6 separate regions of the Homo sapiens genome follow, and all the other regions are linked to region 5. The links are contacts of gene promoters, found by promoter capture Hi-C in blood cells and fetal thymus (Javierre and others, 2016). All regions are on one chromosome and are shown on one strand. Each heading gives the region's core, a stretch centred on a gene start or on the middle of the fragment in contact. The rest is flanking DNA. Distances are from core to core; before and after follow the strand shown. Region 1 has its middle 11 kb from the start of APLN. Region 2 has its middle 27 kb from the start of XPNPEP2. Region 3 has its middle 14 kb from the start of APLN. Region 4 has its middle 31 kb from the start of APLN. Region 5 holds the start of BCORL1 (BCL6 corepressor like 1). Region 6 has its middle 34 kb from the start of APLN.

What was found. Contacts are between HindIII fragments. The CHiCAGO score rates a contact against its expected background, and 5 or more counts as called.
Region 1: a fragment that was not itself captured here is called in contact with the fragment with the promoter of BCORL1 in region 5 in 7 of 17 cell types (total B cells, activated CD4 T cells, naive CD4 T cells and 4 more); the score reaches 11.1 in total B cells.
Region 2: a fragment that was not itself captured here is called in contact with the fragment with the promoter of BCORL1 in region 5 in 9 of 17 cell types (activated CD4 T cells, M0 macrophages, non-activated CD4 T cells and 6 more); the score reaches 10.2 in activated CD4 T cells.
Region 3: a contact is called between a fragment that was not itself captured here and the fragment with the promoter of BCORL1 in region 5, in 10 of 17 cell types (activated CD4 T cells, non-activated CD4 T cells, total B cells and 7 more). The highest score is 16.5, in activated CD4 T cells.
Region 4: a fragment that was not itself captured here is called in contact with the fragment with the promoter of BCORL1 in region 5 in 3 of 17 cell types (naive CD4 T cells, total B cells and naive CD8 T cells); the score reaches 5.9 in naive CD4 T cells.
Region 6: a fragment that was not itself captured here is called in contact with the fragment with the promoter of BCORL1 in region 5 in 13 of 17 cell types (activated CD4 T cells, naive B cells, fetal thymus and 10 more); the score reaches 12.7 in activated CD4 T cells.

Annotation. Positions count from the first base shown.
Region 1 is chrX:129,664,952-129,667,651 of GRCh38, reverse strand. No RefSeq gene overlaps it. Among named protein-coding and RNA genes, the nearest start is that of APLN, 11 kb to the right of the region's middle. RefSeq lists a silencer at 1,026-1,320 and an enhancer at 1,026-1,320. The HindIII fragment of the contact is 1,101 bases long and covers 716-1,816 here.
Region 2 is chrX:129,710,976-129,713,675 of GRCh38, reverse strand. No RefSeq gene overlaps it. Among named protein-coding and RNA genes, the nearest start is that of XPNPEP2, 27 kb to the left of the region's middle. The HindIII fragment of the contact is 863 bases long and covers 884-1,746 here.
Region 3 is chrX:129,639,765-129,642,464 of GRCh38, reverse strand. No RefSeq gene overlaps it. Among named protein-coding and RNA genes, the nearest start is that of APLN, 14 kb to the left of the region's middle. The HindIII fragment of the contact is 481 bases long and covers 1,055-1,535 here.
Region 4 is chrX:129,684,192-129,686,891 of GRCh38, reverse strand. No RefSeq gene overlaps it. Among named protein-coding and RNA genes, the nearest start is that of APLN, 31 kb to the right of the region's middle. The HindIII fragment of the contact is 2,491 bases long and covers 24-2,514 here.
Region 5 is chrX:129,981,336-129,984,035 of GRCh38, reverse strand. It overlaps BCORL1 (BCL6 corepressor like 1), which reads right to left and starts at 1,401. Exons shown (of 14, transcript NM_001379451.1): 1 at 1,274-1,401. RefSeq lists a silencer at 336-572. The HindIII fragment of the contact is 8,398 bases long and covers 1-2,700 here.
Region 6 is chrX:129,620,090-129,622,789 of GRCh38, reverse strand. No RefSeq gene overlaps it. Among named protein-coding and RNA genes, the nearest start is that of APLN, 34 kb to the left of the region's middle. The HindIII fragment of the contact is 3,328 bases long and covers 1-2,700 here.

The DNA of each region.
Region 1 (2,700 bases), core at 17-2,516, 320 kb after region 5:
CACCACAATAAAGAAAACAAACAAAAGACTGACCACACCAAGTGTTGGTGAGGATATGGAGGAACTGGAATTCTCATACACTACTGGTGAGAATGTTAAATGGTATGACCATTTTGAAAAATGGTTTGGTAGTGTTATAAAAGTTAAACAGACATCTACCATATGGCTTAGCATTCCACTCCTAGGTATTTTCCCAAGGGAAATGAAAGTCTTTGTCCATACAGAGACTTGTATATGAATATTCATAGCAGTTTTATTGGCAATAGCCAACATCTAGAAAAAAAAAACCATCCATGTGCATCAACACATGAATGAATAAACAAAATATGGTGGAAACCACTCAGCCATTCAAAAGTAATGACCTGCTGATACACAAAACACTGTTAATACATACAACAGCAGGAATAAATCCCAAAATAATTTTTCTGTGTGAAAGAAGCCAGCAAAAACAGAGTACGTATTGTGTTATTCTGTTTATTAAAAATTCTAGAAAATGCAAACTATATATTAACAAGTAAACCCTCCCTCCAGCCCCTCCCCTCTCCTCCATCCCCAGGTGACTGCTTGAAAGCATTATCCCCAAGTGATTGCTTGGAGATGGAGCAGAGGGGAGGGGCTGGATGGAGAGTTTACAAAGAGGCAGAAGGAAACTGTAGGGATTGATGAAAACTTGATAGTGGTGATGGTTTCATGAGAGTATGTATATGTAAAAGCTTAGCAAATTGTACACTTTTGTACACTGCATGAAACTTGTGCAGGTATTGTATGTCAATTATACCTCTATAGCGCTATAAACAAAAAAGGAGGGTGTCTTTGAACAGATAAACTTCAAGGTCCTTTCCAGCTTCAATTCTGTGGTAACTATTAGAGAAAATTATCCCAAAGCCTGCTACTGAAGTAGTCCTTTGTACTGGGATGCCCAAATCATTGAGACAAAACTGAGGATTTTGCTTGGATTATGCGTAGACATGCTTTTGTTATTCACCTCTCTGGGGCTGTGTAGACTGAACCTCAAAATCCAGTGGGACAGAGTGGGGAAGCACACCACCAAACCAGTGGAAAGACATCCAGGTCAGTGGAGGAAACTGGGGAAATGACAGCCTAATGAGCACTCCTCTTTCCAGTTTCTTTGTCTATGATTCAGAGGATCGGCTTGCCCTGAGCATTCCAGACCAGTGAGGCATCTCAGGGCCATGAATGCAGAGATATCCCAGGGGATAAAACAATGGAAGACAAGATGGAAATAAGAAATGGCCTTTTTAGGTCTCTTGACCCAAATGCAAGGAGCTAAGAGGATATGGAGGAAGAGGTGGAAGTATCCCTTCCCTGCAGGAAGGAGATTATGACTTGATGGGGTCTAGGGAAATCAAATGTAAGAAACTAAAGACCTGGAATGTCAAGCCTCCTGGGATGTTTTTTAGATGGACGTGCTAGAGGAGCAAGAGGAAGGAGGTGATACCACCTCCCCCGCCCCCCCACCCAGCCCCGCCAACCCCTCCGCCTGCCTGCTAACAGTGAAAGCCAAGAAGGCCAGGAAGTGGAAGAATGCAAAGCCAAAAGGCACACTTCAAAGCCGTTTGTCAGCTGGGCAGTGCCTTAAGCAAGTGCCACGGCTGATGGATCACCTCATGGGAAGCACCAGCCAAGAGGGATCCAGCCCAGGAGGCTGTCACCCTATCCTCAGCCTGCACCTGGGTCAGATGCTTTAAAGGAAGACAGTCAAAATCCTAAATACCCGAGGTGACTCCGGGCAATATTTACACCTGAGCAGAATGGCATTTTCTTCTTGATCCCAGAGGGTGATCAGTTATAAGCTTCAAGCCTGAAGCAGGGGAATTGAATGTTCTTGTAATTTTATCCTACATAGCAGAGCCACAGAAATTCTTCTTATCCAGAGGAATGTAGAACTCAAGTATCCTTCCCCACCTCCACCCTTGTTCCTCCTGCTACCCCTAAGTCGTGCACAGTGCACTTCCCACTCCCCCAGAAGAATGGTTACATTGGCCAGTATTGTAATGATTCCTCAAATTAGTAAGGCGTTTCATGGTTTATAAAGCTCCTTCCCTTTCATTCTCTTGTTTTGATTCTTATTCAACCCTGGGAGTGAAACATTGTTTTCTCATTTTTTAGAAGAACTTGAGGGAGCAAAGCACAGATGTTCAGACCTATTCATTCATTCATTCATATATGCATTGATTGGGAAAATGATTGAACACCTACTATGAGTTAGACACTGGCTAGATGCTGAGGACACAGTCATGAAACCAGACAGCCATGGCCCCTGCCCTTATGGAGTTCAGTCTAGTTGGACAGTGAGGGGTGGATGGGGTGAGCCAGACATTAACTGAACACAAACTGAATTGTGAACTATGAGAAGCGATTACAGGGGAATTTCAGCCAGTCTGAGGGCCAAGGAAAACATCTCTTGAGGAGGAGTGATTTGACATTAGAGATGAGCTGATTGATGATAGGCATTAGCCAGGAGAAGACAGGGTAGAGCAGAGAATCATTCAGTAGGAGGAAAAAGTATTGGGAAGGCACTGTGACAGGAGGGACATGGCATTGCAGATAGAAAGAGGATAAGAGGCAAGAGAAGAGGCTGGCGAAGTGGGTAGGGGCTAGATTATGCAGGGCCTTGCATGCCATGGTTAAGAGTTTGGTCTTGTCCTAAGAGCCATGAGCCACAGAAGGTTTTCAAGC
Region 2 (2,700 bases), core at 66-2,565, 270 kb after region 5:
GATTCCTGTTCTTATCTTCGTTATTTCCTTTCTTCTACTTATTTTGGGCTTAATTTATTCTTCCTTTTCTAGCTTTTTAAGCTTGAAACTGTTAAGTTTAGCATGAAATTGCCTCCTTACGTGTTTTAAGTTCGGCCTAAAGGTTTCTGTGTGCATAGTGAACTGTAACCTAACTGGATGTGTAAACAAACTGTAACCTGCTCTTGTACGAGTCACCGAGTTTTGGCAAATCACAGGCGGCCAACTGTTCAAATTGTGTTCAAATAAGGCAAACATTGAGCTGTAATTAATCCAGCTGGTTCTGTACCTCACTTCCATTTTCTTTTTCTTTTCTTTTTTTTTTTTTCTTTTTGAGACAGAGTCTCACTCTGTCGCCCAGGCTGGAGTGCAGTGGCACAACCTTGGCTCACTGCAACCTCTGCCTCCTGGGTCTCAAGCGATCAATCCTCCCTCCTCAGCTTCCTGAGTAGCTAGGATTATGGGCGTGTGTCACCACACTCAGCTGATTTCTCTATTTTTGGTAGAGATGGGGTTTCGCCATGTTGCTCAGGCTGGTCTGGAGCTCCTGGGCTCAAGCGATCCACCAGCCTTGATCTCCCAAGGTTCTGGGATTACAGGCGTAAGCCACTCTGCCCAGCCCACACTCCCGTTTTCTGTACATCACTTTCCTTTTTCTGTACATAAATTTTCTCCAACCACATGGCAGTGCTGGAGTCACTCTAAATCTATTCCGGTTTAGGAAGCTGCCTGATTTGCAAATTGGTCTTTGCTGAATTTAACTCTGTTAAATTTAATTTGTCTAGAGTTTTTCTTTTAACAAAGCTGAGGTCATTGATCTAAGACCTTTCTTCTTTCTTAATATAGGTATCGAGTGCCATAAGCTTCCCCCTAAATACTGCTTTAGTGACATCCCGCAAATTTTTATATGCTGTCTTCATTTTCATTCATTTAAAAATGCTTTTCAATTTCCCTTTTGATTTATTCTCTGACTCATGGATTATTTTGAAGTGTGTCATTAATTTCCAAATATTTAAGGATTCCATAGATATCTTTTTTGTTATTGATTTTGAATTTAATTCTGTTGAGATCAGAGAACATACATTCATGATTTTAGTCCTTTTAAATTTATTGAGACTTGTTTGATGGTCCAGCTTATGGTCTATCTTGGAGAATGTTCCATATGTGCTTGAGAAGACTGTGTATTCTGCAGATATTGGGTGCAGTGTTCTATTCATGCCAATTAGGTCAGGTTGATTGAGGGTGCTGTTTAAGTGGGTTTTTTTGTTTGTTTGTTTGTTTTTGTTTTGTTTTGAGACTGAGTCTCACTCTGTCACCCAGGCTGGAGTTCAGTGGTGCTATCTCAGCTTACTGCAACATCCACCTCCCAGGCTCAAGTGATTCTCCTGCCTCAGCCTCTCTGGTAGCTGGGATTTTAGGAGCCTGCCACTATGCCTGGCTAATTTTTGTATTTTTATTATAGTGGAAACGGGGTTTTACCACATTGGCCAGTCTGGTCTCAAACTTCTGACCTCAAGTGATCTGCCTGCTTCGGCCTCCCAAAGTGCTGAGATTACAAGTGTGAGCCACCACTCCTGTCAAGATGTTAAGTCTTATATACTCTTACTGATTTACTGTTTACTTATTTTATCAGTTACTGAGAAAGAACTGTTGAACTCTCCAACTATAGTTGCAAATTTGTCTATTTATTTCAATTCTGTCAGTTTTGAGTTCATGTATTTTGAAGCTTGTTATTAGGGACATACACATTTAAGATTGTTATATTGTCCTGATGACTGTTTTATCATTAAACATGTCTATTCCTGGTAATATTCTGTGTCTTAAAGCTTACTTTGAAATTAACATAGCCACTCCTGGTGCATCTTTATCATTTTAGTTTTAACCCATCTGTGTCTTTATGCTTAAAACATATGCTTGAAACAAATGTTGAGTCCAATTTTCTTTTTAATGCAGTAGGACAATCTCTAACTTTTAATTGTACTGCTTAGAGTCCCTTCACATTTGATGTCGTTATTGATATTGTTGAATTTAGGTCATCCACTTCTCTATTTGTTTTCTATTCTTCCTTTCTATTCTTTGTCAACTTTTTCCTCTATTTTTGCCCTCTTTTGGGTTGAGTATTTTCTTTTATTTTTGTTGAGATGCAGTTTTGCTCTTGTTGCCCAGGCTGGAGTGCAATGGCACGATCTTGGCTCACTGCAATCGCCGTCTCTGGGATCAAGTGATTATCCTACCTCAACCTCTGAGTAACTGGGATTATAGGCGTGCACCACAATGTTCGGCTAATGTTTGTATTTTTAGTAGAGATGAGATTTCACCATGTTGGCCAGGCTGGTCTCAAACTCCTGACCTCAGGCGATCTGCCCACTTCAGCCTCCCAAAGTGTTGGGATTACGGGCATAAGCCACTGCGCCCGGCCTGGTATTTTCTTAAAAACTTTTTGTTTTAAAATAATTTTAGATTTATAGAAGAGTTGTGAAATGGAGAGTTCCCATAGACCTTTCATCCAACCTTTCATAAACACTTGACATAAACACAATATATTTCTCAAACATAAGAAATTAACCTTGGTACAATACTACTACACTACAGACTTCATTCGGATTTTCCCAGTTTTCCCATTCACACCTTTTTCTATTCCAGGATCCCACTTCAATTAATCATGATCATGTCTACTTAGGT
Region 3 (2,700 bases), core at 46-2,545, 340 kb after region 5:
AGCAAGCCCTTCAACTCAGCCCCTGAACCCTTGCCTGGAGTCCAAGGGGAAGACTTACATTCTGCAGCAAGGTGTAGAATTAAGTGATTTAATACACTGGTTATGAGATGGCCTCTGATAATAATCATACTAACAAAGTGATTCCAGTGGAAGGGGAAGTCTGGAGTCAGATCAGGGTTCAAATCCTGGCACTACCATTTACTCACCTGTGTGACCTTGCAGCAAGGGTCTTGATCTGGATGAGCCCATGTTTCTGCTTTAGGCAGGATGCTGCTGCCCAATTTATAGCACTGTGGTCAGGATTGACCGCGATGATGCAGGGAAAGTGTTTGGCACAGTGCCCGGCCCATGTTACAAGCCTACCAAGTGGGAGCTATTATTATCTCTGTTAAGCCTCATTCTAGCCCTGAGAACTGGACAGGGCAGCCATCATTACCCCAATTTATAGATGAAAAATCAGGCTCATGGAGGTGAGGTCACTTGTTCAAATTCATAGAGCCACTCATGGGTGAGTAGAGCTTCAAACCTGGGTCTGTCCCCGGCTCAGGTCAGCTGCTGCTATGGTTTGAATGCATCCTTCAACTTCATGTTTTGGAAATTTAATCCCTAAATTCATATGTTGATGGTATTTGGAGGTGGTGCCTTTGGTAGGTAATTAAAATTAAATAAGGTCATCAGGGTTGTGCCCCTATGATGGAACTGGTGGCTTTATAAGAAGAGGAAGAGAGACCTGAGCTGGCACACTCTTGCCCTCTTGCCATGTGATGCCATTCTACCACGTCATGATTTAGCAAAAAGTCCCTCACCAGACGCCAGTGCCATGCCCTTGGACTTCCCAGCCTCCAGAGCTGTGAGCTAAATAAACTATTTTTTTTATAAGTTACCCAGTCTGTGGCTACAGAAAACAAACTATGATAGCTTCCCTGCTTCTGCTAAGGGTCCTCTTTCCCACCATGAGTGTGCCTCAGTCACTAGAAATTTCCGGTCTCCCAGATAACCTTTAGGGCCTCCCCAGGGACAGATTACGTCCTCGGCATTTTTCCTTGTAGAAGCTTAGCTTGGGCAGCAGCCCAGGAGGCCTCTCCAAAGGTGTTAAGTGCTCACCATTAGCACCTGATCTGTCTGGAATTGTGGAGCCAGGCACCTGTTCCAGCACACCTGCTTGGCCATTGGGGTTCCTTTCTGCACAAGGCCAGGGGCTCAGAAACGTGGGTTCCAGTCCTGAATCTGCTTCTACCCAGGGCTTGCTGGGTAGCTTAGCAAAGTCTTTCCTTGGCCCTTTCTGGGTCTCAGCCTCCTCACCTGCCCAGGACACCTGGGTGGGTAGATGTGAAGCACCTGCTTGTGACTAGGGATTTGTTGGGGTCCCAGCTAACAGTGGGGGGTGATTCAGGCTGCCCTCCAGAGGCAATTCAGGACCTGACCCAGGGACCTGTAGGGAGGAGCTCTGGGAGAAGAATTAGGCATATGGCAGGAAAATGGGAACCTAAGCCAGTGAGGAAGTCCACTGCTGGGTTACGTGGGTTGCACAAGCTTCCCATAACCCCAGGGCCTGCTGGAACCTCCATTCCATACTTCTCCCTTTGCACAAATTAAATGCTTTCTGATCTTCCCTGAATGTTAAAAAATTGGCACACTGCTGCAGAGCTAGCCTGGTGGTGTGAAACTTGGGGTTCTGAGCTCTGGATCCTAACCCCAGCTTGGTCAGTAACTGGCTGTGTGACTCCAGGCAGGTCTGTTCATCTATCAGGGGTCCTGGTTCTCCCTCATCTATTTTCATAGGATGACAATCTCTGCTTTCCCTACCTTAAACACACAGAATCATAGAAGGGCAGAGCTGACATGAGCCTGAGAGATCATTCAGTACCCTAAGCCCTGTTATTTTTACAAATGAAGAAAGTGGGACTCAGAAAGGATAAGTGAACGCTTAAGGAACATAGCTAGATAGTCCTAGCAAACTCATGTAGAGCGCTTCTCATGTGCCAAGCACTGTTTGAGGAACTTCACCTGTCCTGACTTAGTCAGTCCCCATCACAATCCCATTTTATAGCTGAGGAAACTGAGTCACTGAGAAGGTAAGCCATTAGTCTAAAGATCTTCTGTGGTATGTGCAAACGAACTGAGAGAAACAAGGTGGCATTGCTTTAAAGGAAGGCAAAGGCACTGCTGAAATGCCAAGCATTCCCTCCAGGGCTGCAGTCACCTCTCGTCTGTAGGGGAGGGGCTTCGCTTTGGCACCCTCAGTCCCAGGGCAACAGAACTGCTTGTGATTTGGGGGCTGTGAGAGGCCTGTTGGAAAGAGGGTGCCTCTTTTTCCATCTAGGCAGAGACATCTCTGGCTCCCTCCCCAGCAGGTGTAGGGATAGAGGCTGGTGACTTTGGCATACGTTATGGGGGGTTTCATCCCCCATGTCTCTAGGCTCCTGAGCTTTCTGGAAGCCTGGAGTTCCTCTCTCCTTTGGAAATTCCCAACTCCTCAGATGTGAGGGATATGGAAAGATAAGAGAGGATAAACAAAGCAGGGAGGAAAAAGGTCCCAGTGAGGAGTGCAGGGGGATGGAGGAGGGAATCTCACCACACAGCCCCTTCCACCTCCAGCACTGCAGAGACCTTCTGATCTGATTATCCTCTTTCATCCTTCCCTCTACTCTGGGCTACCCTCTAGCTCAGCTCCACAGCCTGCCCCACCCCCATTCCCAC
Region 4 (2,700 bases), core at 20-2,519, 300 kb after region 5:
AGCATTTAAATGGAAAAGAAGCTTGGGGGGCCCTCTGGGACTGTCTCAGTTGGTTATTTCTCTCTGCTTCTAGATAACTTCAGGCAGCTTGGGGATCTGGATTCCCTTTGCCTGTAGCCTGTGGCTAACACTTCCCCCAGTGTGAAGGGAGGCTGAGCTTCTGCAGCCCTCTCTACTGGAGGAGTTGGCCTTTTCCACACCAACCCTGGCAAAGGTTCATAAGCTATTCAGGGAGTTGCAAAAACTGGGAGGCCACAGCCGGGGAGGAGTAGGAAGGAGAGTGCTGGGAGAGAAGAGCTGCATGAAACGGGCTCTGCTGCCTGGCAGGGCTGAATACTGTCTTCTCTGGAGGGAGGTCAAGGGCACAGCTGAAGCCTGTTTGCATCCCCCTCCCTCCTACATCCCTGTGATAATAGCTCCTAACATTGATTGAGCCCTTAATATGAACCAGGCACTGTTCTCAGCCTTTTTCATGGATTATCTCACTTAATCCTTCACAACAGCCCTATGAGGTAGGTCTATTATTATCCCTATTTTAGAGATTAAATAATAATAATTTCTAAACCCCCCTGAGGCACATAGAGGTTAAGTAAGCTACTAAGTGGCTGAGTCAGGATTATAAACCCAGACAGTTTGGCTCAAGGGAGCAACACCTACCCACTAGGCATTACTGCTTCACACATATAGCTGAGCTACATTGTCCCACCCTGTGGGGCTGCCCTCTGGAGTGTCTCTCCAAGGCTTGCTTTCTTGGGGCCTATCTCATATTTTGAATATTGTAACAGCCACCAATTTACTGAGTGCTTACTATGCACCAGGGACTGTACTAAGCACCTTGGGTGATTTACATGGTTTATTTAGTATAATCCTTACAACCACCCTATGGGATAAGTATTATCACTATCTCCATTTTGCAGGTGAGGAAATTGAGGCTCTGAAAGGTTTAATACCTTATTCAAGGTTAAATTAGTAAGTAGCAGAGCCAGGATTTAAATTTGAACCAAGATCTATCTCATTCTGAAGCTCTAAGAATTTCATTCATTCATTCAACCAACCCACCCAAATTTTAGGCTGGCTGCTATATGCCAGGCACTGTGCTCGGCCTAGGTGGGTATGCACAATGACAATATTTCTGACTCTATATCTTTAGATTAGACTACTCTTAAGAACTGCAGACTCATAAATCCAACTGTCTATTTGACACTACTATGTGGATGTTTAGTAGGTATCTCAAACTGACATGTTCAAAACAACTCAACGTTTCCTCCAAATTCACTCCCCCAATGCCTTCCTCAGTTCTGTAAATGGCATCCCCATCTGTTATGGTCTGAATGTTGGCCCCCCTTCTCCTCCCAAAATTCATATGTTGAAACCTAATCCCTAGTGCAGTGGTATTAAGGGGTGGGGACTTTAGGAGACAGCCCAGGTGAAGGGGATTAGTGCCCATACAGAAGAGGCCTCAGGGAGCTTGTTTGCCCCTTCTGCCATGTGAAGACACAGCAAGAAGGTGCCATCTATGAAGTAGAGGGTGAGCCCTCATCAGATACTGAATCTGCTGGTGCCTTGATCTTTGACTCACATTCAAGAACTATAAGAAAAAAGTTCTGTTGTTTATGAGCCACCCAATCTAAGGTATTTTGATGTAGCAGCCTGAACAGACACCATCCATGCAGTTGTTCAACCCCCACATAGAAGCCATCTTTGATTCCTCTCTTTACCTCATCCATGACATCTAATCTATCAGGCTATCTGGTTGACTTCATCACCAAACATATCCTTAATCTTTACACTTTTCTCCACCATCCCTCTGCCCACCAATCCACTCTCCATAAGGAAGTCAGCATGATCTTAAAACACCAATCAGATCATTTCCTTCTCCTGCTTGAAACACTCCAGTGGATTCCCATATGTTCATGACCTAGAAGGCCCTGCCTGATCTGGCCCCTGCATTTCTACCTTGATCTCCTGCCATGTTCCCATCCCTTGCCATGCATCTTCTTCCTGTTCCTCTAACAGGCCAAACTCATGACCACCTTTGAGCCTTTGCTCTCATACCTCCTGCCTGGAATGCTCTCCCTCTGAGATGGTTCCTTCTTATGATCCAGATCTCAATTTAAATGTCACCTCCTCACAGAGGCCTTCCCTACCTCTTTACAAAATAGCTACTCTCTTTTCTCTGCATGGCTCTTATTACTAAAGATTTTTGGCGGTTGTGGTGGCTCATGCCTATAATCCCAGTGCTTTGGGAGGCTGAGGCAGGAGGATCATTTGAGCCCAGTTTTAGACCAGACTGGGCAACATAGTAAGACCCCGTCTCTCTCTACACACACACACACACACACACACACACACACACACACACACACACACAAAGCTAGGTGTGGTGGCACACGCCTGGGAGGCTGAAGCGGGAGAATAACTTGAGTCCAGTGAGTTACGATCACGCTGCTGTACTCCAGCATGTGTGACAGAGTGAGACCCTGTCTCTAAAAAAAAAAAAAGAAAAAGAAAGCTTTTTAAAATTTTCTGACCTACCTGTGTTTCCCATCCACTAGAATAAAAGCTCCAGGAGAGCAAGGAGCTGACTTCTCTTATTCATCATTTTATGCTCAGGATCTAACATAGTACCTGGCACATAGCAGGTGCTCAGTAAGTAAAGGGCTCATAGTCCAGTAGCAGAGGTTGGTGGATACAGCAAGA
Region 5 (2,700 bases), core at 152-2,651:
ATCCAGCTCCGCTGGGCCTGCTGTCCGTCCCTCACGCCCCTTAGGACCCGGGGTGGGGGAGCCCTGGGGTTCGCGGCCATCCCTCTCCCTCCTTCTCCAAGGGCCGGGGGATTGCCCCTGATCCCGAAACCCGGCCCCGTAACCGGAGCCTCCCTCCTTCCAGCCCTCGGCTTCGCTCGCCGACCCCTTGCCTCCAGGCCTGGCGCGAAGCGGGTGGAGGGCTTGCACGCCGGATCTCCCCTCTGGCTTGCCGGTGCTAGTATGAATTGCCCCCGATCTCATCTTCCTTCAATTTAAGCCCCCTCCCCGCCGCGCCCGGCCCGGCGGCCCCCGCCCCTAGAGCGAGGGCAGCGGAGCCAGGGCGCTCCGAAGTCATCCCCCGCCTTTTTTCCAGGGACTCGGATAATTGCCCCTGCCCCCATCACAGCACTCCCACTCCCGAACCCAGGCCCCGCCGCCACCTAGGGGTACCCCTTACCCTACGATTCCCGCACCCCAGCGCCGGGAAGAAAGCAGCCCTGAAGAGCACCCGTCGCACCTCCCCTCTGAGGTTGGAGGGCATTTTCTCCCGGTCTCTTCAACACTTCATCACGGACACCCCCCCCCCCCAAAAAAAAGCCTTTTCTCGCCCTGCCCTGCTAGCCAGCCTCCCTTCGGATCGTCGGATCCTTGGATCGGGGGTTGGAGTCAGGTAGTTAACAAGACCATAGCCTCCACCTCCCTTTCCGAGGAGTGGGGTAATTCCTATGGTTTCCCCCCCAGGATCAACCGACCCCCGTTTCCATGGAGACCCCCGCCCAGCCGGGAAGAAGACTCTCTTGGATCGTGGCGAACGAGTCTCACCTGGCTAAGAGAGAAGGGGGTCGAGAAGGGGGTAGGGCAAGTCAGGGGATGGGGTACGAAGGTGGGAAGTGGAAGGGAGCTGTCCCGAAGGGAGGGGCGAAGACATACCCAGCTCCAGGGAGCGCTACGTCCGGGGACACGAAGAGGACGGCGCCCCCGGGGGGCAAGCCGAGCGGCCGCAGGGAAAAGAAGGAACAGGGTTGGAGAAAGGCTTAAGATAGAAAGAAGCGGGTGGGGGGATACGAAAAAGCCGGGGAGTCAAAAGGGGTGGAGGGATTGGGGGAGAGAGAAAAAAGACGCACCTGTTCCCGGGTCGGCTCCGCGGGGAGGCTCAGGCCGCCACCCGGGCTCCCTCTTACTCCCTCTTAACCGCCACCCGCCTAATACTGCCCCGATCTGATGCCCCCCTCCGCCCCTTATCGCCACCGACCTCCTTCTCCTCTCTCTCGGCGGCGGCGGCGGTCGGACTCTAGGAACTGAGAGGAAGAAGGGAGGGCTCAGCAAAGCGGAGGAGAGACAGAGCCACACACTGGCAGCAGCCGCGGCGAGCGAAAGAGTGAGGGGGAGAGCGGTGTGTGTGTGTGTCTGTGTGCGAGCGAAGCCTGGTGGAGTGGGTGCCGGTCGCAGGGCTCGACGGGAAGTGGAGTCCGGCTGGGTCCGCGGGCGGCGCCAACCCCCGCTCCACCGGACTACAACTCCCAGAATGCGGCCTACGCGGGTGGGGGGGAATGGGGAGGAGGAGGCGAAGGGAGGGAGCGAGCAAGAGAGGGAGGGACGAAAGCAGGGAGCAAGCGGCGGCGAAGGGGGCAGAGCCAAGCAGCCCCGGTGACACTGGGAGGGGAGGAGAGGAGGAGGGGATCGCTGAGAGGACCGAGCGGATTCCGGAGAGGGAGGCAGCAGTGGCTGCAGCAAGCCGGGCAAAAAGCTAGACTCCTGGGAGAGGCGGAGGCGCTCAATCTGCGGGGCTGCAGGAGCCCCACGTCCCCCCCCACCTCGACGCCCCTCGAAGGGGGAGGTTGAGGAAGGGAGAGGGTCAGTGAGCCGCGGCCAAAGGGTTCTCTCTCTTTCTTCCAACGTTCTCCACCTTATGCCCCGACCTGACTTTCTCAGGCCACTGGTGCCGATCCAGTGTGCAAATCTCGAGACCCCAGATCTCCTCTGCCGGGCAGCGGAGAACAGACGCATTCAGTCCCCTTCTCCCAGGGGCCTGAGGGAGGCTCCCCTTGCAGGCAGGGCGTGACTCCCCCTTCTTCCCGCTCCCCCCCCCACCGTCGTCGCCACCCCCCCATCTCCCTCCCCGGAACCCCTCCCCTGAAGCCGGGGCTCGCCTCTCTCTCTCCCCGCCAAGACACGGAGTCCTTCTGGGGACGACTACCCAGCCCCCTCCCTTATACTGGGCCCCTACCCACCAGTATCCCCTTCTTAGCGTTGCCCCCTCACCGAAATAATGGTGGGGGCGACCCGAGTTGGACTGGTGGCTACTTTCCCTCCAAGGCTAGCCGTCCTTCGCCACGCCGACCCTGTGTAGAAATAGAGAAGCATATTAATACTCCCGTCCCCCCTCCCCCCCAGATTTGAATACCCGTGGAAGTGGCTCACAAGAAAGAGGGGTTGGTAGTGGAAGTGAGCTAGGGGTGAATCCCAATCTTCAAACCTCATCCCTCCCATGGAAATCCAGGTATTCGCCTTTTGCTTAAAAGCCATTAAATCGCTTGGGTGGGGGGTAAATTATCTAAACCCCAATGTCCATGCGACTCGAAGCGACGCTACCTTGTAGGAATAAGATACGAACTAGGTTGCCGCCACGGGAAGGAAAGTATCCCCCACCCCCGTCGCCGTCCACCCCCAAAAACACAT
Region 6 (2,700 bases), core at 82-2,581, 360 kb after region 5:
GGAGCTGTAGGGCCCCAGTCAGACCCCCTACTCCTTGCTTCCTTCCCTCTCTCTGAGGAAGGCAGGCAGCCCCCACCCGATTCACCCTGCCTAAAAGGCAGGGTACCTTTTAGGCCTAGGGAAAGCAGGGGGAGATTAAGGCCATTGTCTTTTTTTCTGTTTTTGTTTTTACAGACAGGGTCTCTCTCTGTCACCCAGAATGGAATGCAGTAGTGCGATCATGGCTCACTGCAGCCTCGACCTCCTGGTTCAAGCAATCCTCCTGCCTCAGCCTCCTGAGTAGCTGGGACTACAGGCCGGTGTCACCACACCCGGCTGATTTATTTTTTGTAGAGATGGGGGTCTTTCTATGTTGCCCAGGCTGGTCTTGAACTCCTGGTCTCAAGTAATCTTCCTGACTCAACCTTCCAAATTGGTGAGATTATAGATGTGAACTACTGTGCCAGCCAAAGACAACTGTCTGTAGCTCTTTCCCTGCCTGAACCCAGGCTTATGCTTCCTTTGCCAAAAGTAGGGCTGGTCCTGAGGGCATCTGGGCCTGGAAGGTGTACTTACCCTCTTGCTGTTTCACTGGGCCCACACCAGGGCGGGCTAACTGGGCATTGCTTAGCCTCCAAGTCTTCTATAGGTGCTTCAGCGAATAGCACCAGGCCCCAGGCAAATTGAGGCCTCTCTGTCTGGAGAATCTGTCTCACCTTAGTCCCCTGTTACATGTTTCCTCCATATTTTTTGCAGTGCAGCGCCCTCTAAGCATGCTCCCATTGACATAGGTTGTGATAATAACCTGTCCTCCAAATTTGTAGTAATCATGGCCACTCCCTTAGTGAACCTTCACGTCGCTCAAGATTTTAGCACAGGGAAGACAGGCTAAGGTTCCCAGCATAGAAGCAATAGCATCCTCTGCCCCCTTTGTTCTCCCATTTAAGAATATGGGTCAGAGGGAAAGTGACTTTATTCTAGGGATAACGCCTCCCTTATTTGTAATAAGAATAATCTTGAATCTAACCTCTTTTATGATGCAAAGTCACTTCTTTGCAAACTTTGATACTTTTTATTAGTAACACACCTTACAATTGATCTACCTCAACTCTGTTGTTAACAGAGATGGCCCCATCCAGAGCCTACTCTGGAATTCGATGGTATAAGAGGGTTTCCAACAAGTGGTTTTCCTGCAATTGCCCCAGCCGAGGTGGGGTGGTGGGGACTATGGGTCCCCACCAGATGGCAGGCAGCAAGGCCACCTCCTGGGCTGTGCACACAGCAGCAACAGCAGTAGTAATCAATGATAAGAACACACGTCAGGAAATATAGACACATGGAGGCCTTCAACATGAGAGAGGGAAAGGTGCTTACAGATCACATGGACCTTGCTGTCCAGAACCGTCACCATGAGCCACATGTGGCTATGGAGCACTTGAAACGTGGCTACCACAAAACAGAATGTTCTCCAAGGGTAAAACACACAATGGAATCTGAAGACTTTCTATGAAAAAAAAAAAAGAATGTAAAAGATCTCACTAATATTTTATATTGATTACATGTTAAAATGATAATATTTTGGATATACCAAATTAAATTAAAAATATACTATTAAATATACATAATTACAAAGGGACACGAGGAATCTTCCGGGAATGTTGCATGTGGTTCACCCTCTTGATTGTGGTGATGGTTTCAGGGAGGTCTACATATATCGAAACGTGTCAAATTGTACACTTTAGATATGAACACCTTATTATATGTAAATTGTATCTCAATAACACTGTTTAAAAATTCCTCAGTGGCTTCCCCGTGGCTACTCTAAAGGATAAAAATAACTAAGTTCTTCAGTTTATTTTTTTCAATGTGGCTACTAGAAAATTTAAAATTACATATTGCATTATTATCTATTGGACAGGGCTGGTCTAGTGATTCCAGTCCATTTTACAGATCATGAAACTAAGGTCCAGAGACAGGAAGGGCCTTGCTCATATATTGCTTAAGGGCTGGCACCAGAATGCACAGGGCAAGACTACCTATGTTGGTAAAAAATACTTAGATAAGCTCTGAAGAGTAGAAAGTGATACCCATCCCTGATTTAATACCCTTTATAGGTGCCAAGGCCTCAGGGGGCAGGGGAAGAATTTGGAGCAACTTCGGAAACCCTGGAGGGAAAGAGAGGAGCAGGGAGAAAAGGGGACAGAGGAGCCAGAGAGGTGTGGGAAGGCTGTCCACTGTGTGAGGTGACCACATCCACCTCCCAGGATTTCATCCCACCAAAGATCTTTAGTAGATTCCACTACTCACATTTTCTTGGTGGGAACTGAGAAAGGGTCTAGGTCTGGTGCTTTGGTCAACAGTGTGAAAGCAGAGACCAAGCTCAGAGCTGCAGAACGTGGGTGGTAAGAAGGCCATGAGGATATAACTCTTCCCTCTTCTTCCACTCTAAGGGAAGGTGGCTTAGAGTGGGAAAAGGAAGGTGACTTCAAGCTCAGTCTTTAAGCACTGGAGGACAATGGGTCTCACAGCACTTTAAGGGGTGCAGTAGCAACACTCACCCCAGGCCTGGATCAAGAAAAAGTAGCCATGCCCCTCTGACCAGACCCAGCCCAGACAATGCTGCCCATTTCCCAGAGGGCCTTGCTGAGCTTCACTGGCCAAACACTAAGCTCTAAGGCAACTGTTCATTCAAGGATTTCAATATTAATTCCTAATGCTTGG